Linked DNA regions of Homo sapiens: regions 2, 3, 4, 5, 6 and 7 are each linked to region 1. The links are contacts of gene promoters, found by promoter capture Hi-C in blood cells and fetal thymus (Javierre and others, 2016). All regions are on one chromosome and are shown on one strand. The core of a region is centred on a gene start or on the middle of the fragment in contact, and the rest is flanking DNA. Distances in the headings are between cores, read along the strand shown.

Region 1 (4,269 bases), core at 900-3,399:
GGAGTTAGCCACATGGACTTATTGGGGAAGAGTGTTTCAGGCAGACAGAAAAGCTAAAGAAAAGGTCCAAAAGCAGGAGTGTGTCACTGGTGTTTGAGGAAGGCAAAGAAGCAAGTGTGACTGGAGCAGAGTAAAAAAGGGGAGAGTGGAAGGAGGAGTGCTCAGATGGTAAGAGACTGTGTCAGAATATGGAAGAGCTTGAGAACTGATATGGTTTGGATATTTGTCCCTGCTCAAATCTCATGTTGTGTTGTAATCCTCAATGCTGGAGGTGGGGCCTGGTGGGACATGCTTGGGTCATGGGGGTGGATCCCTCATGGCTTGGTGCTTGTTTAGTGATAGTGAGTTCTCATCAGATTTGGCTGTTTAAAAATGTGTGGCACCTCTCTCTCTCTCTGTCTCTTTTCTTTTGCTCTCTCTCTTGCTCCTGCTTTCAACATGTGACATGCCTGTTCCCCCTTCACCTTCTATGATTGAAAGCTCCCTGAGACTTCACCAAAAGCAAGCAGATGCCAACATAATGCTTCCTGTAAAGCCAGCAGAATCATGAGCCAATTAAACCTCTTTTCTTTGTAAATTACCCAGTCTCAGGTATTTCTTTATAGCCATGCAAGAACAGCCTAAGGGAAGGCCCTAGAAAGGACTCTGGGTTTTACTCGAAGTGAAATAGGGAGCCATTAAAGGGTTTTGAGCCAAAGAGTGATCTGATCTAACCTAGATCTTAAAATAATCACACAGCTGCTCTGCTGATACCAGACTGTAGGGGGAAGAAGGACAATAAGGGAAGCAGGAAGATGTGTTTGCAGGCTTTTTGCAGTGATCAAGAAGCGGCTTGGACCAGAATGGTAGCAGGGGAGGTGTGTTAACTGGTGAAAGTTAGGATGTCTTTAAAGGTAGAGTCAATCTCCAGATGGATTAGATGTGAGGTGTGGAACAAAGAGGCCAAACCAAAAACCCAAAGGTTTCTGCTTGAGTAACTGCAAGGACAGACTTACTATTTGAGATGAATAAGCTGTAGGAAGAGTAGATTTCAAGGGGAAAATCATCAGTAGCTCTGTTTTGGACAAGTTGACCTTGAGATGTATACTGGATATCTGAAGGAAACATTGAAAAAACTGTTGGATACAAGTTTGGAGTTCCAGGGACTTGTCTGGTTGGCAATAAATCTTTCCTCTTCTGATCTAGTCTCATAGCTTTAAACAGAATATAATGCCACATAATGCCAATGACTCCCAAATATTTATGGTTATGGTCGATTCCAGGCAGATTGTGGTGATGTGGCCATATTGCCAGCAAAGGGAGGTCAGGGTTTCTAGCGCTGCCTCTTTATCTCCGATTATGGAACAGGCATGGTTTTAGTTCCAGTGCTTGGGTCTCCCTGGATTTAGACATCATTCCTTTGAATTCCCACCCAATATAATGAGGGTCAATATCTTCGCTAGCTTTACTAAGTCTTAATTATCTGGTGAGGTGTAGACACAAATTTGAATCAAGGTCTGAAGTCCTTACCTGGGGCTCTTTCTTCCATGCCATCATGCCAGTCTTTGTGAAGACATTTTTCAAAGGCTCATTCTTCTTACCTCTTTTCTAGGAATTTTAGTTTATTTCTTTACTTAACTTCAGAAATTAATTTCTCACTTCATTTTAGTAGCAGGAATGTTAGTGCTGAGAAACTGAGATGTTAGGGAGAATCCTTGACCAAGACTTCCAGGCTCTAGATACTAGGTGTGTCTTGCTCTAATTAAGGAAATCTTATCTGCTCCATCTTAGCCCAGTTTAACGTCCCCAGGAATTCCATCTTCTGCAGTCCTAAACTTTTCCCTTTTTCAATTCAGTGCAACTTATACTCTTCTCTGAAAGTGGCTCCAGGTCTGAAGAACTGTGGTCTGGGAGGAATAGAAAAGCATGCTCAGCTATAACCAGGCCCACATCCCCTAAGTTGCCTGCCCACCAAGTTACGGGCCGGACTTATGCGCCACGCTTTGTCCGGGGACCTCGCGCTGTCCTCCCTCCGGTTCCCACAGAGCAGGGGGCTTCCGGCGGGGTACCCTCCTCTGTGGGCGGGGCCTACCGCTCCCGCTCCCGCCTCCCCGGTTGCGCGCGGCTGCGGGCTGCGATCACGTGAGCACAGCAGGGAGGGGGAGGGGCCCTGATTTCCGGGCGGCGGAAGGAGACGCGGCCGCGTGAGGACGAGGCTATTTGAAAACACGCTCCGGGAGCTAGAGCCTGAGGTCGGCGGCGCACGCTGTTGCCCCGTGGGCTTCTGCTCCCTCGCTTGTCTTCTCGGGCTTCTCGCCCCGGCCGCGGCCGGGTCCTCAGGTAAGCGGCCGTCGCCCGTCGGGCCGGGTCCTCCCGGGGCGCGGGACTGAGCGTGGTGGGGCCGTCGCCCCCCGATCCGCGGCCCAAGCGGGCAGGGTCGGCCGTGCACGATTTGCGTCCCCCGGGTCTGGGCCGCGGCGTCCCTCCGAGCTGGGCCTGGGTGTGCGGCCGGCACTGCGGGGGCGGGACCCCCTAGGGCGTTTGCGGAGCTTCAGGTGACTGGGCGGGTTCGCCTGGTTTCGGGTCCGAGAGAGTTTTAGCCCGGAGTGTGTGAATCGGGCCCCACTTCCCCGACTCTGGTCCTGGCCGGCGTCCCTTGGAGTAGGAGGAACGATGGTTTCCTAAAACCCATGGTGTGTTCGCCTCTGGGATGGATGCAGGACCGAATACGGAGTGGGGATGAGCTGGCGTCCCCTGTTCCGTCCTCTGGTCGCCCAGGCGGGAGAGTTAAGCGAGCGGAAGGGGACTACCAGTTTTCTGGGGTCGCCCCTGCCTGGGCCATTTGCTTTTTGGGAAGTCTGTCGCCTCTGGTTGGCCCCTCAGTGGAGTTTGGAGGAACTCATGAGTTTAAGGGTTTGGGGAGGAAATTATCAAAGGCCGAGTGCAGTACGATCGTTCTCTCTGATTTTTTTTGGAAAAGAAGGTGGAAATGAGGAAGGGTAAGAAGGTGGCAGGCAAACTATTTATAGTTGGAATTTAGTTCGATTGAAATCCTAAAAACGCTAGGATCTGCCTTTTGTTGGAATTAGAAAAGACCTACAGTAGGAATGTGTGACATTCAGCTTTGAAACTATTGGGGATCGCAAACCTAAGGACTAGTGATGTGAGCTCCTCCTCTGAGACTGGCGTTCCTACCTTTTGCTAAAAACCGGCTACTGTAAAAGTGGCTTAGTGGGACTTTTTGATTTGCTGTGTTATGAAAATCTTTGTTATAAGTTAAAGTCAATTACTAGTAGAACTTTGAGAGTTCTTCGCATGAAAATGCTTTGTATCCCGTAATAATATTACTAGGTTTGAAAAGTCAAGGAAGGTCAATCAGCCTTCTTAATTTTCCTAACAGAGAAAGCATTAATGTGACTAATACAAAGCGATAGATAATATGGCATGAAGTTGACAGTAGACTGTTGAAGATCTATCAGGTGGTTAATGGCTAAATAGAACCCACAGGAGTGGAGGAGGAAGGGAGTTAATTTTTCTGAATGTCCTGTACCATTTACTTTCGTGTCTAGTACCAGCTAGTAATAAAATTGTAGGAAAAGCTCACAAAGTGTGCTTGCTTAATTAATGAAAACCATTTTTGTATTAAAAGAGGCCAGGTGAGTATCATGGCCTTCTTTTTAGGCCTTATTCCCTCCCACCCACCCACCCACCGACCCCCAGCTTTTTTTTTTGTTTTGTTTTGTTTTTTAAGACTAAGGTAACTAGAGGTGTGGGTGAGATGAAAATTTGGTAATAGGGACAAATGAAATAAGCCAAACTGTTTTGCCACGAAGACTTCCAGTCTTCAGGTTAATTCTGGTATGTTAAAGGTGGTTTTGCAGAGCTCAGTTCTGTGAATGAATCCCTTTTCAACTTCTTGATAAAGGCGTGACTTCCAAACTTTTCTGAGGTACATTGTTAAAATGGGTTTAGTTCCACCTACCTTGCATGGTTCTGTGCAGATTGTATACTGAGGTACACAATGCATCTAGTACCGGGCTTGGTATGTCCTGATCCTGAGACTTGAGGGACACGCACATGTTTATGCTTTGAGCATACGTATTTAACCATGTACCAGGCACAGTTCTGAGTGTTTTACAATTGTGTATGATTATCCCTATTTTGTAGATAGAAATTGGGACAGTGTACAGCTGGAAGGCGTCAGAGTTTGGATAAAAGCCTAATCAATCTGGTTGTAGAATTGGTTCTTAACCTGTGGGAAATCCTACCTCATGGCGATCTAATATAACC
Region 2 (4,269 bases), core at 1,099-3,598, 1.4 Mb after region 1:
TTGCTCACTGGGACTTCTGGGAGGATCTGACATTGTTGGCCACATCCCAGGGCAGGCTGGCACCACCACTCACCCAAACTCCAACACAGCCCCCAAGCCCGGCCTCTTTCTCCAAGTTTGCTTCCCCACCCTTTCTCCTCTCAGTAGTCAGAGTGATCTTTCTGGAATTCTAATCTGGCTACATCCATTCCTTGTTTCTTACCCTTCAGTGACTCCCCACTTCTGCTGAATCTTCTCTGTGTCCTTAGAGCCTCTCCAGCCATTTCTCCCCGACCCCTGGCTCACGCTTGACCCCACAGGTATGCTGCCCTTCTTCAGGCTTCAGGCCTTTGCTCCTGCCAGCCCACCTTGCTGAAACACCTGTTCCACCCCCTCTGCTAGGCGACTTCTACTTACCCTCTCAGGCCCGCCTTCAGCATCCTTTCCCCAGGAAACTTCTGTGCCCCCGAGTCTGGGCTCTGGGCCCCTTTTTCAGTGCTCCCAGGGCATCCTGTGCTTCACCTACCACTGACCACAGCCCCTCTTACCACCCTGTCTTCAGGAATCACGTCTATCCTATTTACTATCCATCCCTGAAACCAGGCCTAGTGCCCAGCACAGTGTAGGGCTCTGCACACCGCCACTGAATGGGTCAATGCTATTTAGTGCTTACTCCGACAGACTGCCCCCATGAGACTGTCACTGTGTTTCACAGACACATAGGGAAAGCCAGTGACTGCTCCCACCCAACACAACCCACAACCCCAGACACAGGTGAAGGGGAGCTTGCGCTCTGAGCTACTTACTGGAGTGACCCCTTCCTCTGGGTTCTCCGTGGACATAGAGAGGGTTGGTCCCCCGGTGGGCACACTGCTGGCCTCTGCTTCTCCAGCAGTGCTGATGGGCACCTCGGCCAGCCCCGCTGCTGTTGCTGCTAAATTCTGAAAACAAAGGCATCACAAGAGACCATGTCTCTGGGCTCCCATCAACATGCCTGTGGCTGGTGAGAACAGACTGCCTAGCCTTCTCCAGCCACCTGCATTTCTGTAGCTTCTTTCTCTCAAGGACTTTCACATCTATGGTTTCATAAATCCAGGGATGGGAAAGACTGCCCAGGCACCTATGTCTGGTGTTTGATTCCCAGTATTGGTTTGCACCTCCATTAACACGGAAATCACTGCTCCTGAGTCAGCCTGGTCTAGCTCTAGATACTTCTACTGAAACCCATTGCCTCCCTGTGACCTCCCCATGTACCCATCCAGAAGGCATTAGACAATGTCTTTGCCCATGAAGATGCTTCAGAAATGTGTAGGCAGCACCTCTGTCCTCCTCAGCCTTCTCTAGGCTGGGAGACAGAGACATTCCTGCTTCTTCTCTCTCCCTGTGACTCAGTTTCCTTTGGGAATGCACAGGCAGATTCTCTGAAGGTTTCATAGCAATGGGAGAAATGGAAAGAGAGAGCAGCTTTGGGGCTGGTGACAGCAAACTATGTTCTATCTTCATTTCCCAAAGCTTGTTTATTTATTGCAAAAATGTGGTTCTTTTGGTTACAAAAAACACCAGGCTAATCAAAGTTAAAAAGATTTCCTTGCTGCAGGATTTCTCAGAATCTATAAAAAGAGGAATGTAGAGTGCAGCATTTCCCAAAGTCATTTGACCACAGAGCCCCTTTTTCATAAAATATATTAAATCCTTGCAGAATTACTGTCTCAAAAAACAGTTAGAGGAAAGTTGAGGTCCCAGGATGTTAAAATGAGACTCTTTCTAACTCAGCGTCAGCTAAAGCCCCAAAGGGCAAGTGCAATTTCACAGGCATCAGGTAATCTCCCCATGCTAAAACAAGGAAATGGCACCCGTTCTACCAGCTCCTGCCCATCTCCTACCTCTAGGCTGTGTAAGAAACCATACAGGACTCATTTTGGGGTTGAGTGCCTGGAGAGCAAGAATTCCTTTGGAAAGAATTTTCAGTGTACTGCGGTTCTTCTCCTCCCCTCTACTCACTCCAAACCATTTGGTGAGCTGGGTATGTATTTCCTGGAATTTGGGAGGCTCAGGGACTGGTGTCTGATTTTCTCCAGGGAGACAAAAGGTGAAAGGAGGGAGCCCTTTAGATTCAGAGTTGGGAGAGAGGGACAAAGGAAGAGAGGGGAAGGGGAGAGGAGAGGAGGGGGAGGTGAGGGAGAAAGAGAAAAGGAGGGAAGTGGGAAGAGGAGGGGAGGGGAGAAAAGGGGAGAGGAGAGGAGAGGAGAGGAAGGGAGGGAATAAAAGGAGAGAGGAGGGAAGGAGGAGGTGAGAGGGAAAGGGGAGAGGAGGGGAGGGGGATGGAGAAGGGAGGGGTATTTGTCCTGCAGTTGTTTTGCTGGAGATAGACAAGATAAAATCTCTCCAAAGGGAGCTGGCTGAAATGGGCTGTACTCAAAGAGCCACGCAGAAGATCTGGGCAACCTGTATGGGGTGGAAGCCCGGGCAGAAGTTACAAGGCAAACTATGGAATTTTGATCCTAGGTCCCCTGCAGGAAGACCTCCCAGGAACCACAAAAGCCCCCATAAGAGAGAGTTCCAACAATCAGGCATCTTCCACACCAAAAGCCCAGATCACAATTTGACCAGCCAAGTACAACTGTGTCCATTTCTCCAGGTGGGCCAGCCCCTGCAGATGTTAAAAATAGCTCTAGAGGATGGGGAGATCATGAGGATAAGGAGGAGAGAGAAGTAAGAAAATAGAGAGGAAACCCCTAACCATGCTTCCCTTTCCTGGCAGTTTCCTAGTCTACAGTAGGCCTGAGTATAGAAGGGGGGAAACTGTGTTTGTAATTTTGTTGAATTTTTGATATTATGCTGGGCTTGACTTTTAAATATCTGTGAAAATTGACTGTTACCAGATAGTGACTGAGAGAGCTGTGAGAACTGTCTTAAGTTTTCATCCCAGGAGAAGGGAAGGAATGAGCTGGCGTTGTGGGTTTTCAGCAGGGGCCATTGTGAGAAAACTATTTATGCTTTAATTTTGCACCCTAGGGAGCCCAGCATTTCAAAAACTGGCTTTGCAGGTGTAAAAGCCAATTACCAAACAATAGCATGAACACACCTGCAGTTAATCTGATTCTGTCTTGAAGGGGACTCAAAGGGCTGATAAAGCTATGTGCCTTCACAACTGAGCAGGAGGGCGGGGTTGCATTGGTGAGGCCTGGACGCTCGCTCATCACAGGCAAGTGTGAGGACAAGCTTGCACTGCATATCCCCCACCAGTCCTGTGCATCCCTGGAGAGCCTCTGTGGCCCTGGGACTCTGACCTCCTCTGTACCATGAGGACAGAAGCAATCTTGATGCTATTCAACCAAAACCCTTGTGGTTCTCTCTGGTGCTCAGTAAAATCATCACCAAGTTTGAAATAAGCAAACAAGCCTACTACTGACTAATCAAATGAAATTTACCATCTACTCACCTTTTCTTCAGCAATGTCAAGGAAGGCCCCAGCCCCTGAGCCGCTGTCAGTAATGGGGTCACCATCCACAGAATGAACCCCCTCCAGTGTGTCATTCAGGATCTCACCAGACCCTACAGGAAGCAGGCATTCTGCTATCAATAACTACATTTTGCAGTCTTGGAAAAGAATGAGGTATCTCTTCACCAGCTAACTTGGAAAGATGTTCAGATACCATGACACAGGGTCAAGAGGGGGAAAAAACAAGTTGCAGAACAACATACATGGCAAAGCATGTGTGGTTTCCATTCCAGGCTCTGGCACCACCTGCAGGCAAGTCGCTCAACTTCTGCCTCAAGTTCCTTATCTAGAAATGGGGAATTACAATAATTCCTACCTCATAGGGTTGTTTTGAGTACTGTGTGTCACAAGGACTAAGTAAGTTAATGCAAATAAAGCATTGAGGACAGCCCCTGGCATATAGTAAGCAATTGATAAATGTTCATTGTTGATATGGTTTTACGTGTGTAAAATAGAAAAAAAAAGTATGAGTATAGATATCGTATCATTATTATATATATAACATATTCATGTTATGTAATAATGATTATGACATACATAATATATACATATATGTATATGTATATGTATATGTATGTGCTTATATATTTATATACTTGGCTAAACCACAGTGTTTAGTACTGATATTTTCCAGAAGATAGGAGTGTAAGAAGAGGAAACTATTATTTTTCTGGTTTATACAACTGAGCATTAATTTAATTGTTCCCACATGCATATATTTCTTTTGCAATTTAAAAAGCAGCCCGGAATCCCAGCACTTTGGGAGGCCGAGGTGGGCAGATCACTTG
Region 3 (4,269 bases), core at 1,221-3,720, 1.2 Mb after region 1:
ATTAAGCTGAAGGCTGCATACCAAGAAAGGAGGAGACATTCAAGAGGCATTCATAGAAGAGTTGGATTGGGGGCACGTTTTCAAAGAAAAAAAGTTATGAAATGGCAGAAAGGAAGCAAATAGCATTCTCAGATGGGATATACATATAGACATAGTGGTACTAAACTGTGCACTAGGGATAAGGAATCAATTTCCCTAGAGAAACCTATGTTGGAGACAGAAGTTGGGCAGAGAACATTAAAACATACTCAGAACATAAAAAGGTGCAAGTCTTTAAAAGGGAAGCCAAGTTACAGAGGAAATAAAAAGCATTTGACCTTTTTCAGAATGTTTTTTAAGGGTGGACTGAGGCATCATCATAACCAACAGGGGAGGCAGACAAGCTGAGGCAGTCTGGGCTTAGAGTAATAAGCACCTGGACAGCTTTGTATTTTGTGCATACCATGGAGACTGTAAACTCCTCCAGGACATGGACTGAGCAATGTTCTGTGTCTTCAACTAAGTCCACTACTGTTACTTGAATACATGAACGCTTCTTGTGCTACTTCTGGTGGAAAAGAGTGCACTGTGTTATTCAAGTTAATAGCGGTGTGGAAATGTTACCTGTGTTTCATGCCTAACTATACTGATTCTCCCAAATGTCCACACAGTTATCCTGCCTTCCTCCCTAGGCCAATGTCAAAAATCCATTGTTTCCTCTAATGCAGGCCCACGTGAAGGGACTCAACAATGTGCTAAGAGTCGGAATGAAGCCTATCTGATACTCAAATCATGAGGACAGAATCCAAAGTGGATAATAAAGACCAATTGCTCATCAGACGACTGAAGAAGAAAAATGGGCTACGCCAGATAGTATGATGTATACATATTTATATATATATATGACATACAGGTTTGGGAAACTGAGATCTGAGTGAAAATCCTAGCTTTAGCACTTAAGTTATTGGGTACTTAACGTGTCTGTACCCCACTTTGCACATCTGTAAAGTGGGGCAAATGCCACTACTCCTGGGAGTTTACTTGTGGTGATTAAATAATGTAATTATACAATAGTGTATGCATTTACATCGTAGTAATGCACAATACATAGACGGTAGCTATTAGGACTGATTATAATCGTCACCGTCAGTCTTGATTTTTTAAAAAAATTTCAACATCTTTTGTCCAGTTTCAGAAACAGAAATGTACTTTCACTGCATTTTAGTTGCTAACACTGAGGCTGTGTATTTTAGCTTCTAGTGTCTCAGTTCAGCTGCTAACGAAGTTTTTCACTCATCCCTTTGTGGATACCAACCACCTACCCCAACCTGATTTACTATTTTGAAAAATCCAGCCAACAGTCTTCCTTGAAAACCAGCTATACAGATGTCTGAATCAAACTATTAACTGTCACTCAAGAAAAGGAACAACGTGAGTGATGTTCCTTCGAGGAAATAAAAAGCGTTTAATCAATTCACAGTCGTTCCCAAAATTTCCAAAACCCGCAGAATGAGCAAACGTTCAAGTTTCCACTATGAAAACAATCCGTAGCCGTCTGGTTACTGGACTCACTTCAACACTCCCCAGACGCACGAAAGAAGAAACATTCCGCGCATCTCCGCGCTTCCTTCTTCTCACACAAAGCCCCCCTGGCTGGAGGAGCAGCCCCTTCCAGCAGGGTCGGCTCGGGTCGAGCCGGGCGGGAGTCAGGGCGGCCTGCGGACCCAGGGGTCTCACCACACGTCGCCCCCGACTCCCACTGGACGAAGCCCTAGAGGCTCGGAGCTCACACCCCGCCCGGGAGCCGCCTTCCACCCCAACCTCAAACCCCGCCCCGGGTTCGGCAGCCTCTGGCACGGACCCTCTTGGGGCGGGGGTCCCCAGAACAAGGTCACGCCGTGCCCAGGGGGCGGCGGCGGGCAGCCACGGCTCTGCCAGTCCCCGCCGGCCTCGCACTCTCCGCCCCTGGCCCTCGCCCACTCACACCCCAGAGGGCAGCCCCGGACCTCGGACGACTCCGCCCGACTCCACCTCCCCGGGGAGTCCCGAGCGGGGCGGCCTCGGGCAGCCGGACACGTCCGCCCGCGCCCGGACACACGCCCCTGCCCCGCCTCCGCTCCCCGCTTGCGGTTCGCCCGGCAGCCGCCGAGCCGCGCGGCGCCACGAGAGCCCGGCCCGGGCCCCGGCGCCGCCACCTGCGCCCCCGGCCCCGCGCCATGTTTGAGAAAGAGCAGGAGCGAGCCAGAGGCCGGGTCCGGCCCGCGCGCCCCGCAGTCGCCCGCCCGCCGCGCCGCCGCTCACCCGTCGCCCCCGGGAGCAGCGCCGCCGCCGCCGCCGCCGCCGCCGCCAGCACGAGGAGGAGCAGCCGGGGACGCGGAGCAGCGACCGCCGCCTCCATGGTCCCGCCGCCACCGCCTGTGGCCCGGCCCGGCCCGGCCGCGCCGCTGCCTCACCCCAGCAAACCTCGCCTCGCCCCACCTCCCTAGCCGCCGCGGCGGCCTCGCTCCGGCCCTTTGTAACTGCTCGGAGGACGCGCGTCCATTGGCTGCCGGGCTCCCGCCGGCCCCGCCTCCCCGCCGCCGCGAGCTGCCAAGCGGGACCCAGCCGGGAGCCCCGCCTGCGGGCCCGCCAGGCAGCCAATCCGCAGCCGCGAGCGCCGGTTTCTGGCCACGCCCCACGCTCCCCGGGGGCTGGGCCGCCAGACCCCAGCCCCGGCCCGATCGGCTCCCGGCTCCGAGAGGCCGCGTGGGGGCGGGGTCTGCCAGCCCCAGCACCGCTCAGCCGCTAGCCCCGGAGGGCCGGGTAGAGCGATGGGTGTGTCTGTGTGAGTCTCTTTCGGAAAAAGGCTGTGGCCGTTCGACGCTCTTTTCTTCTAACCTCCTCTAGGCGCGGAAGATCTGGTACTGCCTCAGCCCCACCCTGACCCCATTCACAGCTCCGCATTGGCAATCCCAGCACATGCCACCCAGATCCGCTGCAGCGCCAGGCCCCTGCATCCACTTCAACTTCCCCTCTCCAAGTCCACGCATCAACTTCAGCATTCCCCCGAAGATCCCTCCTCAGTGCCCTTCACATGCGACTCACTCTCCTATTTCCTCCTGCTCCCAGCGGTCACCCCAAACCCAGCTCCCCCACCCAGTTCCAAACCCAGAAAGTCCTCAGATCCCAGCGTCAGACCCAGATCCTGAGCCCAAACACACCCCCAAATAGCCTCCCGCCTCCCTCCAGCACAGATCCAGGATGGGGATCCAAGCCGCACTCCTCTCAAACCCCTTCCCGATCCAGGTTGGAAAGGGAGGATCCCCACCCCAACCCCTCAAAGGAGGGGTTCCCCCTTCTTAGCACCCAGCTCCCGCGGGGCGGAGGGGGAGCAGTCATCATTACTTTGAGCTGTGTCTGACACTGCTGTATAATAATCCTGAGGTGTCACTAAAAACCCAAATAAACTCTACGTTTTCATTCTGAATTCCTAATTTACTGCGAGACGCTCCACCCACCTTCCCTCTGCGACGCCAAAATGAGCTCCAGATTTGTAATTCTTCCTGTCAGACTAGTCCTTTCTTCAGACACAAACACAGCCAAGGAGGCTGTTACGTAGAACAGAGAATATTTTTCCGCAGAACCTTTTAAGGAGGAAATTTTATTTTCTGTGTCATTTGAGCTTAGAATTAAATAAACCTTGATAGCAGGAATCAGAATGGTTCTGATTAATGCCAATTTGTGCACTACTTTAGAGTCACTGGGTGAGCATTTTCCCCACCTGTGAAGGCTTCCTTCCGGGAGATGAAAAGGGAAAAGGCGTGGATATTGGAGCTGGGATCTGAGACCCGCGCGCTTTCTCCCTCCTGTCTAGGACACTTACTTAAGCAAGTCAGCTAACCTTTCTGAACCTCCAACAGGCTCAGAGGCCTGCAACTTGCTCTACACCGCAGCTCCAGCAGCCTCAGCAGCAAACTCCCCTCTTGCTCAGGCTGAGGGATTCCAGAGAGATGGCTTCTGGCAGGCTCCAGTCCCAATTTGCCCTCTCAGTTCCAGTTTCTTCAATGGAGATTTGGTGGACTTTGTGCCACCTGAGGTCCCTAGACTGCCTTTTTGCTGCTCTATTTGCAATGTCTTTCATAAGATAAGAGCTAATGAGATTTTTATTGTATGAATGAATGAATGATCTCAGAAAGTGACTGTTTTTCTCTGGCCATTAGCTTCTTCATCTCTAAAATGTAAATAATAATAGTACCTACCCCGTTTATAAATAAAAGGGATTGAATCACTTGTCTTGGGCCCCTTAAATGA
Region 4 (4,269 bases), core at 793-3,292, 1.2 Mb after region 1:
GAAGATGGCTTCTGCCTGGATAGGTTTGGAGGGAATTCAGTACACAATGAACTATGACAGGCAAAGGAGGCCTTAAACTAAGTTTTGTACAATGTGGTCAACTGATACTGTATGTTAGATTTTTCCTCCAAGTATGTTTTCAATAAGAGTAACACTTGTCATTTGGACATAACTCTACAATTTACCAAGTGCTTTCATGCAAACATTTTGTCTTGCTTGAACTCACAACAATCCAATGATGTGCACAGAATCCATCACTTTCATTTTAAAGATGAAATAACTCAAGCATGAGACATTGGTTAACTGCCCAAAGCCACAGAGCTAGCAAGCAATGCAGACAAGTTTTTGCAGGGTAAGGCATCAAAGGAGGGAGAGAAGCTTTCAGAGAACAGAGAGCTATGGTCCCTCATGGATCTAGAAATATATATATATATATATATATATATATATATATATATATATATATATATAATGGAAACAGAATTATTCCATTGTTTCTCATGTTTATATCTTAAAAGGTTAATGAAGATATTCTTATCCAGTAATCAACTGCCACCCACCCACCAATTCCTTTAATCAGTTAGGTGGGCTTATTCCACTGTGGCAAGTGGCATGAGTGCTGTGTCTTTCCGGAGTATAAGTTTAGAAACAAGAGAACAGGTTTGAGGGATTAATTCCAAATATCTGTAGCCATCCTGATTTTCTGTGACTCTGGTCCTTGATTATCACAGTTTTGAGCAGGATGACTTCCAGAATGAGCAAAATCTTTTTGAAGATCTGAACTGAGAATAAATGGGAAGTCCCAGGAAAGCTCTAAAATAACCTCTGTCCACCAGGCCTGCCTAAAGACTATCACACCTTCAGTACTAAGACTGCTTCATCTAAGTCCAAACTCTCATTGTCTTCCTTGCACAACTGTTTCAGGAATCCCTAAGCTTGCCTTCTGGGACGTGAGCTCCAGTGCGAGCCTGTGTGTGTCCTAGTAGTCAAGGAGAGAGCTCTCTTATTGAATACATATGGCCAAATTCTATAGAAGAATAATTCAGGTAATAAAATCAGTTTCTTCATTCTTAAATGAATGGATATGCATACATACCAATATATATTCATTTCCTTAAAATAAATAGACATTTGTCATTATATGAGCTTTCTGCAACATTAGATGTGATTTTATGCTTCAGAATTATATTCTTACCCAGTCACAACTTCTGCTTTAACATTCCTTTAATATCACTCAATTATAAAATTAGTGAAAATTTTTTTTTTTTTTTTTTTTTAGATGGAGTCTGTTTCCCAGGCTGGAGTGCAGTGGTGCGATCTCAGCTAACTGCAACCTCCACCCCCCAGGTTCAGGTGATTCTCCTGTCTCGGCCTCCCGAGTAGCTGGGACTACAGGCGCATGCCACTACGCCCGGCTAATTTTTTTGCATTTTTAATAGAGATGGGCTTTCACCAAAATTAGTGAAATTTTCATTATATACGCTTTACAAATTTTCACTTTATTCATGAATTTAGCCCTTATTTGAAGATGACTCATACTTTTCAAAGGATAGTACATCTCATTTAAAAGTCTTAACAAACCACTTGAAGTGTTTTTATCAACAGTATGGGTTCCATATTTTTGATGAGGAAACAGAAGCCCAAAGAGGAAACATGTTCTAACCAAGGTTATACAGCCAATCAATGACAAAGCTTGCCTTGAAACCTAGATCTATTTATTCTTCACCAAGTGTCAAATTCTAAAAACACAGGGGATAGGAGTGTTCCTCTCTTAATATTTTTCCAAACCACATGCAAGAAAAAGTAAAAGATAACCCCCTTTCAGTTTAAACATGAAGCACTGCTATGCCAAAATCCACCTTGGGATGACTCTGACAATTAGCTCATCTACTTCTGATGCCACAAATATCAACAAATAGAACTGAGAAAAGAAAACGTCATTAGGGGCCAAAACTACATTAAATAAGAAGGTGGTTAGACATTTTTCTCAAGTGAGAAAATGACATAAGAGTTCATTAGTTTAATTTTAAAAAACCAGGCCTATACGAAAGACAATTTCATATAATGTTTAAAAAGTAAATAACCTTCACAATTCTGAATACATTTCTGTCATGCCTGTTTTCAAATGTAAACATCAAGCTGCTAAACAATCCTGAATAGAATGGGTTAGCTGCAGATCATGTGAATATCTTTGACCTTCAGCTTCATCTATATGAGAATAATTGTTCTTATCCTTTCTACCTCACAGTGATGAAAAGCAAATTAGATTATACAAGTGAGAACGCTTTGAAATTTATACCACCATGGAGCTGACTTATTGATTCGCTTTAACAGTTAAAGTTAAGTTCCAATCTATTTTAAACCAGCCACAGTCATATATACATCAAGCTTAAAGATTTTTATTAGGTTCAAACCTGCAATATTATTTATACTATCTCACATTCTAGCAAGTTGGCTTATTAGAAAACTAATAAAATAAGTATCGCTTAATTTTAAAAAGATGTCTTAGGAAAAAGGAGAAACAATTATGTTACCTGAGCCAGAACCTGACGTTGTCATATCATAAATTAAGTCTTTCAACGTAGTACCCTCTGAAATAAAAGGGCGATCTAATGAAGGGTCCTCTTCATTTGGCACTCGATGGTGAATGACAGTGCGGTTGTGGCAGATATAGACCATCAACATGAGTGAGATGCAGACGAAGCACACTGGTCCAGCAATGACAGCTGCCAGTTCCACAGGACCAAGGCCAGGTGATGACTTTACTGAAAAAGGGCCTCGAGTGAAATAAACATCAACAACGACAAAAACACTGTAGGTGGCAACCCCCATTTTCCCAATCCTACACAATTCCTGCAGCTGGCCACTGCCACCACTTAGCCAAAGAGCCTCATTACAGCAGTTTACAGGGCTCAAACCCAGAACAAGTGAATCAGTCTTCTCCCACTAGGCCTCCTTTTATGCACACCAGCTCTGTCAGCACCCACTTACTCCTGTATTCTTCAGCCATCATTACAAGGCCAACTGCCGCCAATATCATAGGACCTTCCCCACTTATCACATCAGGTCACTAATACCAATAACCTGTAACAATACCTATTAACATCTCCTTAAAAATCATATTTTTTTTAATGTTTGGCTTGTCTTCTTGTTCCAAGGCCAGTACATGCTCATAGCAAGAAAAACAACAACAAAAAAAACAACAAAATATCAAAACAAGCGAAAAAAAAAACCACATACATCTTCATCACTTCTAAACAACTCACATTTCAGTATATATCTCTCCACCAATTTTTTTTTTTTTTGAGATGGATTTTCACTCTTGTTGCCCAGGCTGGAGTACAGTGGTATGATGTTGGCTCACTGCAACCTCCGCCTCCCGGGTTCAAGCGATTCTCCTGCCTGAGCCTCCCAAGTAGCTGGGATTACAGGCATGTGCCACCACACCTGGCTAATTTTTGTATCTTAATAGAGACGGGGTTTCACCATGTTGCTCAGGCTGGTCTCGAACCCCTAACCTCAAGTGATCCACCTACCTTGGCTTCCCAAAGTGCTGGGATTACAGGCATGAGCCATGCCCGGCCAATAGGTCCACCAATTTTTTAAAGGCAGAACATATCTTTTACTTTTTTTTTTTAACAGAGTTTGCATATATATACTTTTTATACTATCTTAACCTCCTGGACTTTTAAGTCCAGATCATTTTCTTGTAACTTCTATTAATAATTAAGATTTTCTGGTTGTTTCAGAAAATTACAATTATTTTGACATTCATCCTGAGTCTTACTGGTTTACTGCTTACCACCATTTCTTTCATATCACATCTTTCCCATTCTTAAGATCTTCAGTAGATTAATCTCTTATCATACAGAATCCTATTTCTAGTAATTTCTTTCAGGAAGAGTCCATGCACCCTTGTACACTGAACTTAGTTGTGGCAAGAAGGCTGTTGCCTTTGTATATGAAAAATCTTGGCCTATTTCAAGAATTTTAGGTGATCGTAAAAATGTTCCATTTGCCCTTTGATATTTAAGCAGAAAATCTGAACCTGTTTTTTTTTTTCACCTTTTACAGGTAACCAATGTTTATGTGTGTTAAATGCTTATATAATTCTTTTATTCTTGAAATTGATACTTTTTATTATATGTGTTTGGATTAATATTTTTTCATTAATTTTGCCTGGTATTCTGTCTTCTTTATGATTTCATGCCTTTTTCTGGAATTCTGATAATAAGCATATTGGATCATCTAAATCTGTTCCCTATATCT
Region 5 (4,269 bases), core at 1,120-3,619, 1.2 Mb after region 1:
ATTTTGTAATAAAACCTGAAATCTGGGATTCTTGATGGCCATGGCACTGTACACCAACTCAAGGCACTTCTTGAGCACTATCATTATTACAGCAGAATTACAGGCTCAGCTCTTCAGACCTTACCCTGTCTTATAGGCGATACAACTGGCCACTGTTTCTGGCACAACTCCACTGCCACAGGAGCCACCTTGCTGCCATCCCACTCCTCATCCATGGCTGAAGTCAAAGCAGGGGCATCCCAAGCCTCATCTGCTCAATCTCCAAACTTGGAGACCCCTCCCTTCCACCTCTAATGACTGAAGGAAATGGAAGTGGGTCCCACAACTTCCATCAGCCGTTTTACTCTAGGTCTCCAGAGCAGCCTTCAGTCAAACGGCTGTGGGGGAGGCAACGGTCTCTGCGTCAGGGACCAGCAAGCAGGAGAGCAGGTTCCAAGAAACAGCTGGAGACAGAAAGGATGGACCAGGGATGTCTATGCCTCACTAAGTCGTATTTCCCCCATCCCCATTTCTCCTGGCTACTGACAAAATGAATATGGACGCACAATTTACCAGAAGATGTTTTAGCCACGTTGAATCTTGGAAGGTGAGCATCCTAGGATGGGCAGTATAAACAACTGTGTTTTTAAATGACAAAATTATTACTCTAATCAAATTTATCTGCAGTTATCGACAGTAATCATGATCCATCCCACCTTTTAAGTTTCTTTCATTTTCAATATCAGCCAATTGTGGTTTATCAAACCATCCCTAGCCAAAAAAGGAATTAACTGCAGTAATACGTAAAGTCAATTTAGAACTAAACTCCAACTTTAAAAAAATTCCCTGATTCATCAAAAGTACATTTTATCCACTTAGGTAAGAAAAGTATAATTGTAACTCAATCTTTGATTCAATAAAAAATATCTTCAGCAAAAGTGGATAACCTTACATGAAAGTGAGAAATCATGTATTACAACTTTAAATCAGACAACTTTTGGTATATTCTTAAAATTATATAAAAATAGTTTTAGTGATAAAATGCATTGGTCCCCTGGATTTCATAAAGCAGATCTGGTAGGCTTAGAAATGGCCCAAAAACAACAACAAAAAAAAAAAAACAAAAAAAAAACCCCCACAAAAAAAGTACCTGATCACAGAATTAGAGATTATTATTAAACAAGTAATACAACACAACTATAAAAACAAACCTCTCAAACTCATTCATTTGCTTCAATGAAATTATGGTAACTACAGAAAAAAACTCAACTTTGTAGTCAAAATAGTAACCTCTAAGCATTTTTCCCATGATGTTTTTAAACACATGAAATTGACACTAAATTCCTATGTAATATGTCACTCATTCTAAAATTACTTTGGTTTTAAGATCAAATAGTCTTTCAAATTTATTCTACGTATAAGAGATAAGACATTATCAGAATGCAACTCATTCAGTGTAAATGGCCACTTTCTCTTCCTGACCAAAATACTGTATGGGTTACTCTGACCCTGTATCGGGGAACTGATAGCACTATAAAGTCGAAGTCTTGCCTCAGAGCTATGATAGTTTTTTCTCCCCTCAGAATAAGATCACAGTGATAAAAGGACTTCGAAAACTGTAAAAGCCCTGCAGAGACTTCATAGCATTGGAAGTAAAAACCAGTTATTATAAGCTAGTTTCAACTTAATGTAAGAAGACCATGACAAGTTTGCTTTCAATATTTGACCAAAGACATCTGTAAATGGAGAAAAACCTATACTCAGAATGTTCTTTAGCTACCACCTCTCCCAAGTAACAAGGGTGCACTGAATGCATTACATAAATTACATGTAAGCAGTTGCAATGTACGCACACATAAGGAAACACTGAATTAAAAGCTGCCTTCCTCAAAGTGTAGTGAGACCTCAAAACCACACTAGCTCTAACCTCAGTTACAAAGACAGAGGATCCACCGAACGTTTACTCCTACATACATAACAAATGTGACTTTCTTGCACATCTGTTATCTATTCAAATTATTAACTACCTTCGCCTTCCTAGAAAAAGGCCTATTATTTAATATTAACCATATTCTAATTTTAAATGTAATTCATGTCTTAAAAAATAAGTCTTTGAACAGATAAAGAAAAAAATGGCTTACAGAATACCACATAACTTTTCACAAGCAGCTAGACAGACTTTCCCTTTTAGAAAAATTAGTCTGTATGCTACAAATATTAAAGTACTATAAGCATCTAGAGTGCCACTTGATTTTTTAAAAGTATACTTAGACAACACAATTAAAATGCAAAAGCTTGATGTGAGAATATTCAAACATGACCATGCTAATAATTTACTAATTAATGCCACTTCATTTCTTTAGTGGCTTAAGCACATTTTGGTAGGAGAAAGGCATTTTCAGAATAGAATACCAAATGACATACCACAAAAACCCTTCCAAAAACAAAACAGAAAAAGTTTGGGTTACCCAGATAAATAAGCTTTTTGAATTCAAACACTATAGGTTTTAACATAGAGACTTTCAGCAATTCTACTCATTTCCATTAGAAAGACACAGAAGTGGCACTTACTGGTATAGTACAATCCCATTTTGAAGGCATGTAATGTTCTGAATAAGTGAAAGAACAATAATAGTATACAAAATACAATTGCATGAATTATGTTCCTCACTACTATATGAGGTCATTTTTAGACTCAAGATAAGAGTTTTATAAGTGTTAGTTTTAAGATCCTGAAAAACTATAGAACAGTACATTCAAAGTCTGAATCAAGGAAACTCTAGTGGTTCAGAATCCTCTGAGAATGTACTAACCAGGAGTAAATCACTTTCTTTAGTAATAAGACATGTTTCATTGTAATTCAGCAATCCAACTCCTTTGCCCTTAAAGATGATCTCCAGCACAGCAGAGTTACCTAAAGTTAAGACCAGCAATCATCTTTTTAAAAAACAAGTTTTGTTAATAAAAAATAAAGGTAGACTACACATTTTCTGTCCTGGGAAAGAAGCGTTCATAGTGCACAGAAAGGACCCACATGGCTGTTTCCTGGGTCCAAAGAAATCCTGGGAAGTTTTTAATTGACTTTATTACACTGCTGCAAAAGGAAGCAATATCCTTCTGTTCCCTCTCAGTGAGGTAGAACAATTGACCTCCCAAATTAAAACCCAGGAGCAGATCTGAAGAAAAAAGGAGAGTTCAGGCAAAGCTGTAGAATTACATTTTGATGCCTTCCTGTTGACTGAGTTGCGATAATGTTTTCTTAATCCGCAATGCTGTAAGCCTAGCTGCTCCATTGGCATACCAACATTCTCTCATAATTTTAGCCATTACTCTCAAGGCCTACAAGAAAATATAAAAAAAAAAATTAATGCATGCACCATTTTCCATTGGTCTGGATAAGAATTTTTACGTGTAAATTTTCTTTTTAAATGACATATACACTTGTTATTGTTTAAGCATTATTTGTAATAGCAAATGAGTAGAAATTACATAAATTTCCATCAATAGGGTACTGGTGCCAGTGCTGGAAAGCAGGTGGACAAAGAGTGACTCATTTAGCAAACCTGAAAAGGCCGAATCCTAAACCAGAGCTGGGCAAAGCAAAGAAGAAATCTGACCTCACACTGAAATTTTAAGTTTGTACTTTGAAGTATTCACATCAAATTTTTCTTTCTTTTTTTTTTTTTTGAGACAGGGTCTCACTCTGCCGCCCAAAGTGGAATGCAATGGCATGCCCTCAGCTCACTGCAGCCTTGACCTCCCAGGCTCCAGCAATCCTCCCACTTCAGCCTCCCAAGTAGATCAAATTTCTAAAAGACAAAATCTAGCAGCACTCTCATTTATTAAACTATGTCACATGCAAATTCCTTAAGCATGCTGAAATACATTTTATTTATTTGGGCCTGGAGATGTGATTTTGTTGGAGGTAGCAAGCTCTCTTGCTTATCAGAGGTTCTGCTGAGTCCTACAATAGTTTAAGACGTAAAATCAACTACTGAACTGAACAGCTTTTTATAGCCTTTTTAAGCTACAAATCTTCAAACCTGGAGGAATATGCTCTGCTTCACCAATATTGTAATAGTAACAGCTAGCAATTAAGGAGAGGTTAAATAAAATTCATCTTACGAATCTTTAAATTTACAATTACAAAAACGTTTCTAAAACTTTTTGTTAGAGCTGAAGTTGAGCAGCTCAGATACTGCTGGAAAAAAGCATTTTCCCTAAATTCCTGGTTAACGGTTATCTGGGCAATCAGATGAATAAAACGGAAAATCATTTGAAACACCTTTG
Region 6 (4,269 bases), core at 888-3,387, 1.2 Mb after region 1:
CCTGCCAACCTGAGTGGATTTCAGACTTCTCCCTCCCTTTTAGAAAGAGTAGAATTTGGTGGAGATACTGTCCAATCTACTGTGCTTTTCTCTTACAACATCAGTTCAGGGCATTGGACCCAGGATGGGAACGTGGCTGTTGGGGAGAAGATGAGCAGAGAGGAAAGAGGCCATTACAGAGACCGTCAGCAATCAGCTTCATTCTTTAGGAGACATCCACATCCAGGGCTTCCAGAGGCCATGGCAGGGCTGGGTCAAGCCCTCCTGGGGGAGGAGGGGGATCCCCTGGACATCCGCCTGGAGTACCAACCCCTGTCACTCAGAGACCCCAGAAAGATGAAAAACGGGGTGGAAAATGCATTGGAATTGTTTACAGGGAGGCTATTCTGTGGCTAGAACATTTCAATAAACCTCTTTTTTAGGGGGGAAGGGGTAAGAAGGCGCTGAGGGTTGTGCTTGAGTAATAAACTGCCTCAGAGGAAAGCGGGTTCAGTAGCTGCAGGGTTTGTGGTTTGCTAGGAGGTGGTGTATATTTGGAGAGAGAGCTCACCTTGTCAGCAAGAAAAGGAGAAGCTGAGCTGAGGGCCATTACCAGCAATCCTCCTCCAAACCAAGCTTGGCCTCTTTAAAGTGTAGCTGTTTGGTACAGCATCATTTATGTGAAAATGGAGAGGGGGCTACATGCATGGTTGGATATATGTGTTTATGTACATATGAATGCATTCATGCATGCATGCCTGTATGCATTTGTTAGTTTATGCATGAAATATCCCTGGAAGAATCCAGCAATATGGTTACATTGGTTGCCTCCAGGAAGGTGAGCTGAATAGCCCAGAGATTATATCAATTAGCAGACAGACTAGGCTGTCTGTCATAAGAAGTGACCCCAAAATGCAAGGCTTAAACAAGATAGCATTTCAATTCTGTCTCACAAAGCAGGGCAGGTATAATGGTGACGAAGTGTCAGGGACCCAGGATCATTCCATTGTGTGGCTCTGCCATCACTACAGTGTTGCCTTCCTCTGCAGGGAGGAGGATGGCTCACCATCACCTCTGCAATCCAGCCAATAAGAAAGGGGGAGTAAAGAAAGTGAAAGGCACATCCACGCCCTCTAGGAGAGCCACTGAACGTTAAGCACATGGCCTCCACTCACCTCCCACTGGCCAGAACTCAGTGACTTGGACACAACTAGGAAACGCCCTCCTTAGCTGAGCATTCATGAGTATAGCTAAAATTGGAGATTTTGTTTCTAAAGAAAGAAGGGCAGAATAAATATAAGAGGACAACCTGTAGTCTTTATCTGGGATAGGATGAAAGGGACATTTTCACTTTATATATCCTTTTAGTACCTTTAAAAATTTTTTCCTGTACCCTCTTGATAGACCTTTCAGTATCTTCTGAACCATGTGAATTAGGAAAAAAAATTAAGTTTGAAAAATATATTAGTTTGGAAGTCACAAATTGAGCACATGCATCCACCTCTCCACTACACCATGGATCCATGGGGATAAAATATATTTTTTAAAGAGTGAAATCAGATCAGTGCTGGAAAGCAAGACAGGGTGCCAGCAGATGAGAAAGTCTGAGAAAATACTGGAAGCTAGAAAGTAGATGGGATTGGCTGGGTGCGGTGGCTCACACTTGTAATCCCAGCACTTTGGGAAGCCAAGATGGGCGGATCACCTGAGGTCAGGAGTTCAAGACCAGCCTGGCCAACATGGTGAAACCCCATCTCTGCGAAAAATACAAAATTAGGTGTGGTGGCGCATGCCTATAATCCCAGCTACTTGGGAGGCTGAGGCATGAGAATTGCTTGAACCCAGGAGGCGGAGGTTGCAGTGAGCCCAGATGGTGCCACTGCACTCTAGCCTGGGCAACACAGCAAGACTCTGTCTCAAAAAAAAAAAAAAAAAAGAAAAGAAAAGAAAAGAAAAAGTAGATGGGATCAGATCAACTGAGAAAGTACAAAGGTAAACCACAGCCCCAAACACCAGTACCAAGAACTTTCCTTCTCAAGGGAGCCCTAGAGAAACCCCAAACTCAGAAACAAGAGACAGAAAGCAAGAGTAGACCATAGGATAACCATCAGAGTAACTGAGCAAAGAGCTGCATTCACAGTGGCTGGGACATTCGGGGCCCCTCCCTTCTCCCTTCCCCTGCTCAACATATGCTCAACCCGTAAAGGAACAACTAGTGGTAATTTTGCCCTTTGGGTACCTAGGACCCAATCATTATTCTTAAAAAATGTGGGTGATCTATCCAGGAAGGGATCCTAATATAGGTGTCTAAAGTCAAGAGAGAAGCAGAACAAGAACAGGGTTGGAAGTCTATGTAGGCCTCCCCAACAAATATATATGGCAAGTTTGGGTTGAGAGGGTGTATTACTCCATTCTCACGCTGCTAATAAAGACATACCCGAGACTGGGTAACTTATAAAGAAAAGAGATTTAAATGACTCACAGTTTAGCATGGCTGGGGAGGCCTCAGAAAACTTACAATCATGGCGGAAGGGGAAGAAAATACGTCCTTCCTCACCTGGTGGCAAGAGAGAAAATGAGTGCTAAGTGAAGGGGGAAGCCCCTGTAACTATCAGGTCTCATGAGAACTCACTCACTATCACGAGAACAGCACCGAGGGAAACCGCCCCCATGATTCAATTACCTCCAACCAGGTACCTCCCAGGACACGAGGGGATTATGGGATTACAATTCAAGATGAGATCTGGGTGGAGACATAAAGCCAAACCATATCAGAAGGCATGGAGGGGTGGTAGAAAGTCCTCTGTCCAAAAGGAAATTATAGCTAAATACTCCAGTCCGTTATTTAAATACCTCCTTACCTTGGCAGGCGTGGGCATCCCAGGCTGCCTGCTGCAATCTAGAGGTGAGCCTGCTGACAATATGGCCCAGCCACTCAAGGGGACCTGAACTGGCCCTCCCCTTCCAGGGAGACGCCTCTTGTGAAAGCAGGCCACACCAGCTATCCATACAGATTAATCTAATCCTTCATTTAGGAAAGTCGACGGAGAGCCATGGAGCCCCAAATATTTGAGGAAAACCAATAGCACAACCAAGTTGAACAAACATGAGTAAACACAACGTCATCCTGGAAAAAAAAAACAAGATGAAGTAGGTAATGTTAAAGATAAAACCCTAATTAGTATCTCTGGAGAGATGTGAGAGAATGAAATCTCCAAAACAAGAGCCAGCTGCCGTAAAAAAGGAGCCATCGGAGAACAAGAAATAATTTCTAGAAATGTAAAATAAGGGTCAAAATTTTAAAAATTCAGCAAACAGGAATAATAGAATGGCCAAGACCAAAAGCCAGAGCAGTTGTGTGGAAGTCAATGAAATCTCCAGAAATACAGAAAAAAGTCAGCATAGTAAAAACTAAAAGTCTAGAAACAGGAAAGCTCCAGGAGGCTAGCATCCATCAATTCAGTAGGAGTTTCAGAAGGTAAGAAAAAAAATCAGAGAGGTGGTGGGGGATAAAGTCAAAGACATAATAGAAAGTTTCCCTGAGCTGGGAAAAAATACAAGTCCTCAGATTGAAAGAGGCCACTAAGTACCAAGCAGGATAAATGAAAACAAAACCCATACCTAGATATTTTTAGAAATTTCAGAACCCCAAGAAGAATGAGAAAGGCTTAAAAGCTTGAATATTAGAAATGAGAATTTAATTAATTTCAGACTTCCCATCAGAAATGCTTTAAAAATCATGCCTTTAAAACTCCAGTGGAGGCTGGGTATGGTGGCTCAAGTCTATAATCCCAGCACTTTGGGAGGCCAAGGCAGGCAGGTCACTTAATGTCAGGAGCTCGAGACCAGCCTGAGCAACATGGTGAAACCCCATCTCTACTGAAAATACAAAAATTAGCCAGGTGTGGTACCACGTGCTTGTAATCCCAGCTACCCAGGAGGCTGAGGCAGAAGAATCACTTGAACCTGGGAAGTGAAGGTTGCAGTTAGCTGAGACTGCACCACTGCACTGCAGCCTGGGTGACAGAGTGAGACTGTCTCAGAAAAGAAAAAAGAAAAAAAACTCCAATGGAATATGAATTTGAGCTGAAATTATACTCCAGCAATGCAAGGAAAGTTTATCACGTGTGCACTCGAATGTAAAAATTACTCACGGAAGTACTTGTGCAAAACAAAGGGAATGAAAGAATGAGATTTCAAAAAAATGAGACTGAAGCAAATAAAAAACAATGATACCTGAATAAAAGTGAGGAAAGTAAAAACTACATTAAAAGACCAAGATTTGAATGT
Region 7 (4,269 bases), core at 928-3,427, 1.2 Mb after region 1:
TTGCAGTGAGCCGAGATCCTGCCATTGCACTCCAGCCGGGGCAACGAGAGCAAGACTCCATCTCAAAAAACAAAACAAACAAACAAAAAAAAACAGAAAAAGAAAGAAAAAAAAGTAGATGCCGGCGAGGATGCAGAGTAAGGGAACTCATACACTGTTGGTGGGAATATAAATTAGTACAAGTATTATGGAAAACAGTATGGAGATTTTTTAAAATAATAATAAAAATAAAAATAGAGATACCATACAATCCAGCAATCCCACTACTGGCTATTTATCCAAAGGAAAGGAAATCTGGGCCAGGCTCAGTGGCTCATGCCTGTAATCCCAGCACTTTGGGAGGCTGAGGCCGGTGGATCACCTGAGGTCAGGAGTTCGAGACCAGCCTGACCAACATGGTGAAACCCCGTCTCAACTAAAAATAAAAAAGTTAGCTGGGCTTGGTGGCATGCACCTATAGTCCCAGCTACTCCGGAGGCTGAGACAGGAGAATCACTTGAACCCAGGAGGTGGAGGTTGCAGTGAGCCAAGATGGCTCAACTGCACTCCAGCCTGGGCAACAGATCAAGACTCTGTCCCCCCAAAAATAAATAAATAAATAAAGGAAAGGAACTCAGTATGTCAAAGGAATACATGCACCCCCTTGTTTATTGCAGAACTATCCATAATAGCAAAGATATGAAGTCTTTGAAACATGTCCATTAACAGATGAATGGATGAAGAAAATGTGGTGTATATATTCAAAATGACATACTATTCAGCCATAAAAAAGCATGAAGTCCTGTCATTTGCAGCAACATGGATGGAACTGGAAGTCATTATGTTAGGTGAAATAAGCCAGGCATAGACAGACAAATACGTTCTCACTTATATGTGGGCACTAAAAAAGTTGATCTCAGCTGGGTGGGCTGGCTCACACCTGTAATCACAGCACTTTGGGCGGTCGAGGTGGGTGGATCACCTGAGGTCACGAGTTTGAGACCAGCCTGTCCAACATGGTGAAACCCCGTCTCTACTAAAAATACAAAAAAATTAGCCGGGCGTGGTGGCGGGTGCCTATAATCCCAGCTGCTCAGGAGGCTGAGGCAAGAGAATCGCTTGAACCCAGGAGGCGGAGGTTGCAGTGAGCCGAGATCCTGCCATTGCACTCCAGCCTGGGCAACAGAGCGAGACTCGGTCTCAAAAAAAAAAAAAAGAAAAGAAAAGAAAAGAAAATTGATCTCATGGAGATAAAGTAGAAAAATAGTTACCAGAGGCTGGGAGGGGGTCGGAGGGTTGAAGAGAGGTTGGTTAATGGATACAAATATACAGTTAGATTGAAGAAATAAGTTCTAATGTTCAATAGCAGAGTAGGGTGATTATAGTTAACAACAATGTATTGTATATTTCAAATTAGCTAGAAGATAACCTGAAATGTTCCCAACACCAAGAAATGGTAAATACTCAAGATGGTGAATACCCCAAATACCCTGACTTGATCATTACACATTGTATGCATGCAACAAAATGTCATGTTACACTGTCAATATGTACAAATATTGTGTGTCAATAAATTTATTTTTAAACTTACCCTCAAGAGGTCCTTGCAGGCAAATCATGCCTTCTCACATACCTTTCACTCGTTGCTTCTACTTCCACAATAAATCTTACTCATATATATTTAGGACCTACCCTGTGCATAGCACTGAAGATAAAGAAATGAAATTAGCAGTTTAATACTCTTTGACTTACATAATTCTGCATTGTTCAATACTAATATCCTCAGACCTGACTTTCTCTTTGTTCACGTTAAATAATCATATTTTACCCATATTTTAATTTTGAATATTTTTTGGTTTGTCTAATAAATAGAGAAATCTTAGATTTAGTGTTTTTTCTTATAGTATTGGTTTTTAATATTTTATTAAAGATTACTGAGGTTGCTCTTATTACACCTGTGTGTGTATATACACACACACATATATATACACACATATATACTCACACACACATATATATACACATATATACAGACCTGTATATATGTACACACACATATATACACACCTGTATATGTGTACACTGTATGTATCTACACACACAAGTGTAATACATATATACATAATATATATGTGTATATGTGTATATATTCTTTGTACCATCCTTTTTTTTCTTAAAAAGGACACTTGCTTTCCCTTCTGATTTTCTTCATTCTTCTGCTATTCATTGATGTATTTCATTATCCCATTATTTCAATATAAATAATTTCTTTCAAATATTTTAATTTTTTTATTTCAAGTTTGATAATATATTTGCCGCAGTTGTTTGGACTTACTTCAGTACAATCAACTGGTCTCACTGGTTTCTACCTTAGATTCATTGTTCCCTTTCTATGGAACACATCTTTGAATAACATTTTTTCAGAGAGAATATATGCATTTGTATAATTCCCATTGTCTTGCATATAAATAGCTTGATTATATATAAAATTCTTGAGTCACATGTTTTTCTTTCAAAACTTTGTAAATGTTTACCTTCTAGAGCTGCTTTTCCTATAATATGTTCCAAGGAAAATAAGCTGTAAAAAATGCTTCAGGAAAAAGGGCTCCATGGTTATATAACTATAGGAAAACTTCCATTCCTATAGGAAAGGTACATTTTCTATCAGAAATGTACCAGGGAAAGTAGCATACTATAGGCCATGAGCTCTCCTGAGGTAATGAAAATGGATTAATTTTATTTCCAGTGTATCCAAGCTACTTGACCACAGTAATACTGAGAGAAAGCAAATGACCAACAATACAGTAACAGGTAACATCTTTTCAGCATGTACTATGCACTAGGCACTGTTCTAGCACTTAGTCTGTGTACATTATCTGATTTAATCCTCACAATAGTTCTAGATGGGTGGTAGAATTTTTCAATCTGTTTTAACAAATGAGGAAACAGAGGCACAAATAACTTAAGAAAATGAGCTAGAAAATGCTGAAGCTAAATTGAAACCCAAGTAGTTAGCTCCTGAACCATTATTCATATCCTTAAGAGTTGGCAGGGAAGGGCAATAAAGGCAACTTCTATATCTTTCCTAAGCCTGAAAAACACAGCGAAACATCTAATTGTACCAGAAAAGAAAGGGAACTTTCCACCAACCAGAAGTACACTCTGCTAGACTGTCCTAGAATTTGCTGCTGAATTATGGCACAGGCACTTTGGGGGGTAATCTGATGATCATCCATGCAAGTGCTCAACCTCTGCTGTTGGCCAACATCCAGGACCCATCATTGAATACTCATCACCTCATCAATTCATCCTCCTCAACTGACGGGCAAAACAACATCCAAATATTCATTGCACATCTGTGCCGGGCAGATTATACATTAGCAATTCAAATCTGGCCGGTGTGCTGGCTGTTCCTGCAAATGCGTCTGTTTGGGTGAGATGCCTTGTTGTCTGGGATGGATAATAAGGCAACTCGGTCTAATCTTGAAGAACAATCAACCCATCTTGTGAAGGTGACTGGCTGTGTGTGTTCTTGCCCTGGCAGCATTGGAACAATGGCCCCATAATGCACTCGACTCAGCTGGCAATGAAGTCCCATCCTGATTAGTAGCCGTGGCTGGTGTCAATCACCACAGGATGCATCATTGTCCCCTGGTCCCCAACACAGTTTATTTACAGGAAAACAAAGGCTTTGGGGGGCCATGGCTGCTTCCCAGAGATTGCAAAATAGATTGAGCTGTCAAGCACACAAAGTAGATGAAGATTAATGAGTTGTGCGGACAATAAATATGAAGAGATGACCATGAATATGCTAATGGGCATTATCCATATACACTGTAATTGCTACCAAAATTAAAAGGTGGCATGAAGAAGATGGGTCACAGGGTGACAGGGAGATAATCTTGGATGCTTGAGACACTCACTCAAGATAAGGCTCTCTACAGGTTTCCTTTTTCCCCATTAAACCATCCTGAGGCATCATTATTCACAAGCTATCTGAATACGCTCCTTTTAAACAGGGATATAAGGGGCAGGGTGAGGGTGGGAAGCTGGAAAAGTTACTTTAAGGAAAGGTGTAATTAGAATAAGAAAGGCTTATCAAAGGCAAGAAGTGATCAGCTGTCAGTCTCCCACTTTATCCCCAGGGGCAGAATTGATGAGAGATGTCACTTCAAACTTCAGATTCCCCACGATAAGAGCCACAGGGATTATTGAGAATGGTATTTAGAATACCTTTCAGGGCGCACTGGGTGATTTTTCAAAGTATTCTAATATTCTGATTTAAAAACA

The links. The method cuts DNA at HindIII sites, captures the fragments that hold promoters and counts their contacts. A CHiCAGO score of 5 or more calls a contact.
Region 2: a fragment that was not itself captured here is called in contact with the fragment with the promoter of TEX10 in region 1 in 1 of 17 cell types (fetal thymus); the score reaches 6.1 in fetal thymus.
Region 3: the fragment with the promoter of TGFBR1 here is called in contact with the fragment with the promoter of TEX10 in region 1 in 2 of 17 cell types (neutrophils and monocytes); the score reaches 7.8 in neutrophils.
Region 4: a fragment that was not itself captured here is called in contact with the fragment with the promoter of TEX10 in region 1 in 1 of 17 cell types (total B cells); the score reaches 7.8 in total B cells.
Region 5: a fragment that was not itself captured here is called in contact with the fragment with the promoter of TEX10 in region 1 in 7 of 17 cell types (total B cells, naive B cells, fetal thymus and 4 more); the score reaches 13.0 in total B cells.
Region 6: a fragment that was not itself captured here is called in contact with the fragment with the promoter of TEX10 in region 1 in 3 of 17 cell types (fetal thymus, M0 macrophages and total B cells); the score reaches 7.8 in fetal thymus.
Region 7: a fragment that was not itself captured here is called in contact with the fragment with the promoter of TEX10 in region 1 in 1 of 17 cell types (M2 macrophages); the score reaches 7.6 in M2 macrophages.

The regions. Positions count from the first base shown.
Region 1 is chr9:100,350,822-100,355,090 of GRCh38, reverse strand. TEX10 (testis expressed 10) reads left to right here and starts at 2,149. Exons shown (of 15, transcript NM_017746.4): 1 at 2,149-2,319. LOC105376177 (a long non-coding RNA gene) reads right to left here and starts at 2,041. Exons shown (of 4, transcript NR_188642.1): 1 at 1,510-2,041; 2 at 996-1,094. RefSeq lists enhancers at 1,822-2,456, 2,861-2,910 and a silencer at 1,971-2,520. The HindIII fragment of the contact is 13,255 bases long and covers 1-4,269 here.
Region 2 is chr9:99,000,104-99,004,372 of GRCh38, reverse strand. It overlaps COL15A1 (collagen type XV alpha 1 chain), which reads right to left. Exons shown (of 42, transcript NM_001855.5): 7 at 3,422-3,534; 8 at 786-920. Among named protein-coding and RNA genes, the nearest start is that of COL15A1-AS1, 58 kb to the right of the region's middle. The HindIII fragment of the contact is 1,710 bases long and covers 1,494-3,203 here.
Region 3 is chr9:99,103,314-99,107,582 of GRCh38, reverse strand. It overlaps TGFBR1 (transforming growth factor beta receptor 1), which reads right to left and starts at 2,470. Exons shown (of 9, transcript NM_004612.4): 1 at 2,281-2,470. The coding sequence starts at 2,377. RefSeq lists silencers at 1,743-2,252, 2,343-2,942. The HindIII fragment of the contact is 12,693 bases long and covers 1-4,269 here.
Region 4 is chr9:99,131,005-99,135,273 of GRCh38, reverse strand. It overlaps TGFBR1 (transforming growth factor beta receptor 1), which reads right to left. Exons shown (of 9, transcript NM_004612.4): 3 at 2,535-2,765. Among named protein-coding and RNA genes, the nearest start is that of TGFBR1, 28 kb to the right of the region's middle. The HindIII fragment of the contact is 696 bases long and covers 1,695-2,390 here.
Region 5 is chr9:99,148,229-99,152,497 of GRCh38, reverse strand. It overlaps TGFBR1 (transforming growth factor beta receptor 1), which reads right to left. Exons shown (of 9, transcript NM_004612.4): 9 at 1-3,318. The coding sequence ends at 3,193. Among named protein-coding and RNA genes, the nearest start is that of TGFBR1, 45 kb to the right of the region's middle. The HindIII fragment of the contact is 187 bases long and covers 2,276-2,462 here.
Region 6 is chr9:99,164,147-99,168,415 of GRCh38, reverse strand. No RefSeq gene overlaps it. Among named protein-coding and RNA genes, the nearest start is that of ALG2, 56 kb to the left of the region's middle. RefSeq lists an enhancer at 975-1,269. The HindIII fragment of the contact is 3,039 bases long and covers 618-3,656 here.
Region 7 is chr9:99,200,850-99,205,118 of GRCh38, reverse strand. No RefSeq gene overlaps it. Among named protein-coding and RNA genes, the nearest start is that of ALG2, 19 kb to the left of the region's middle. RefSeq lists an enhancer at 1,684-1,853. The HindIII fragment of the contact is 5,389 bases long and covers 1-4,269 here.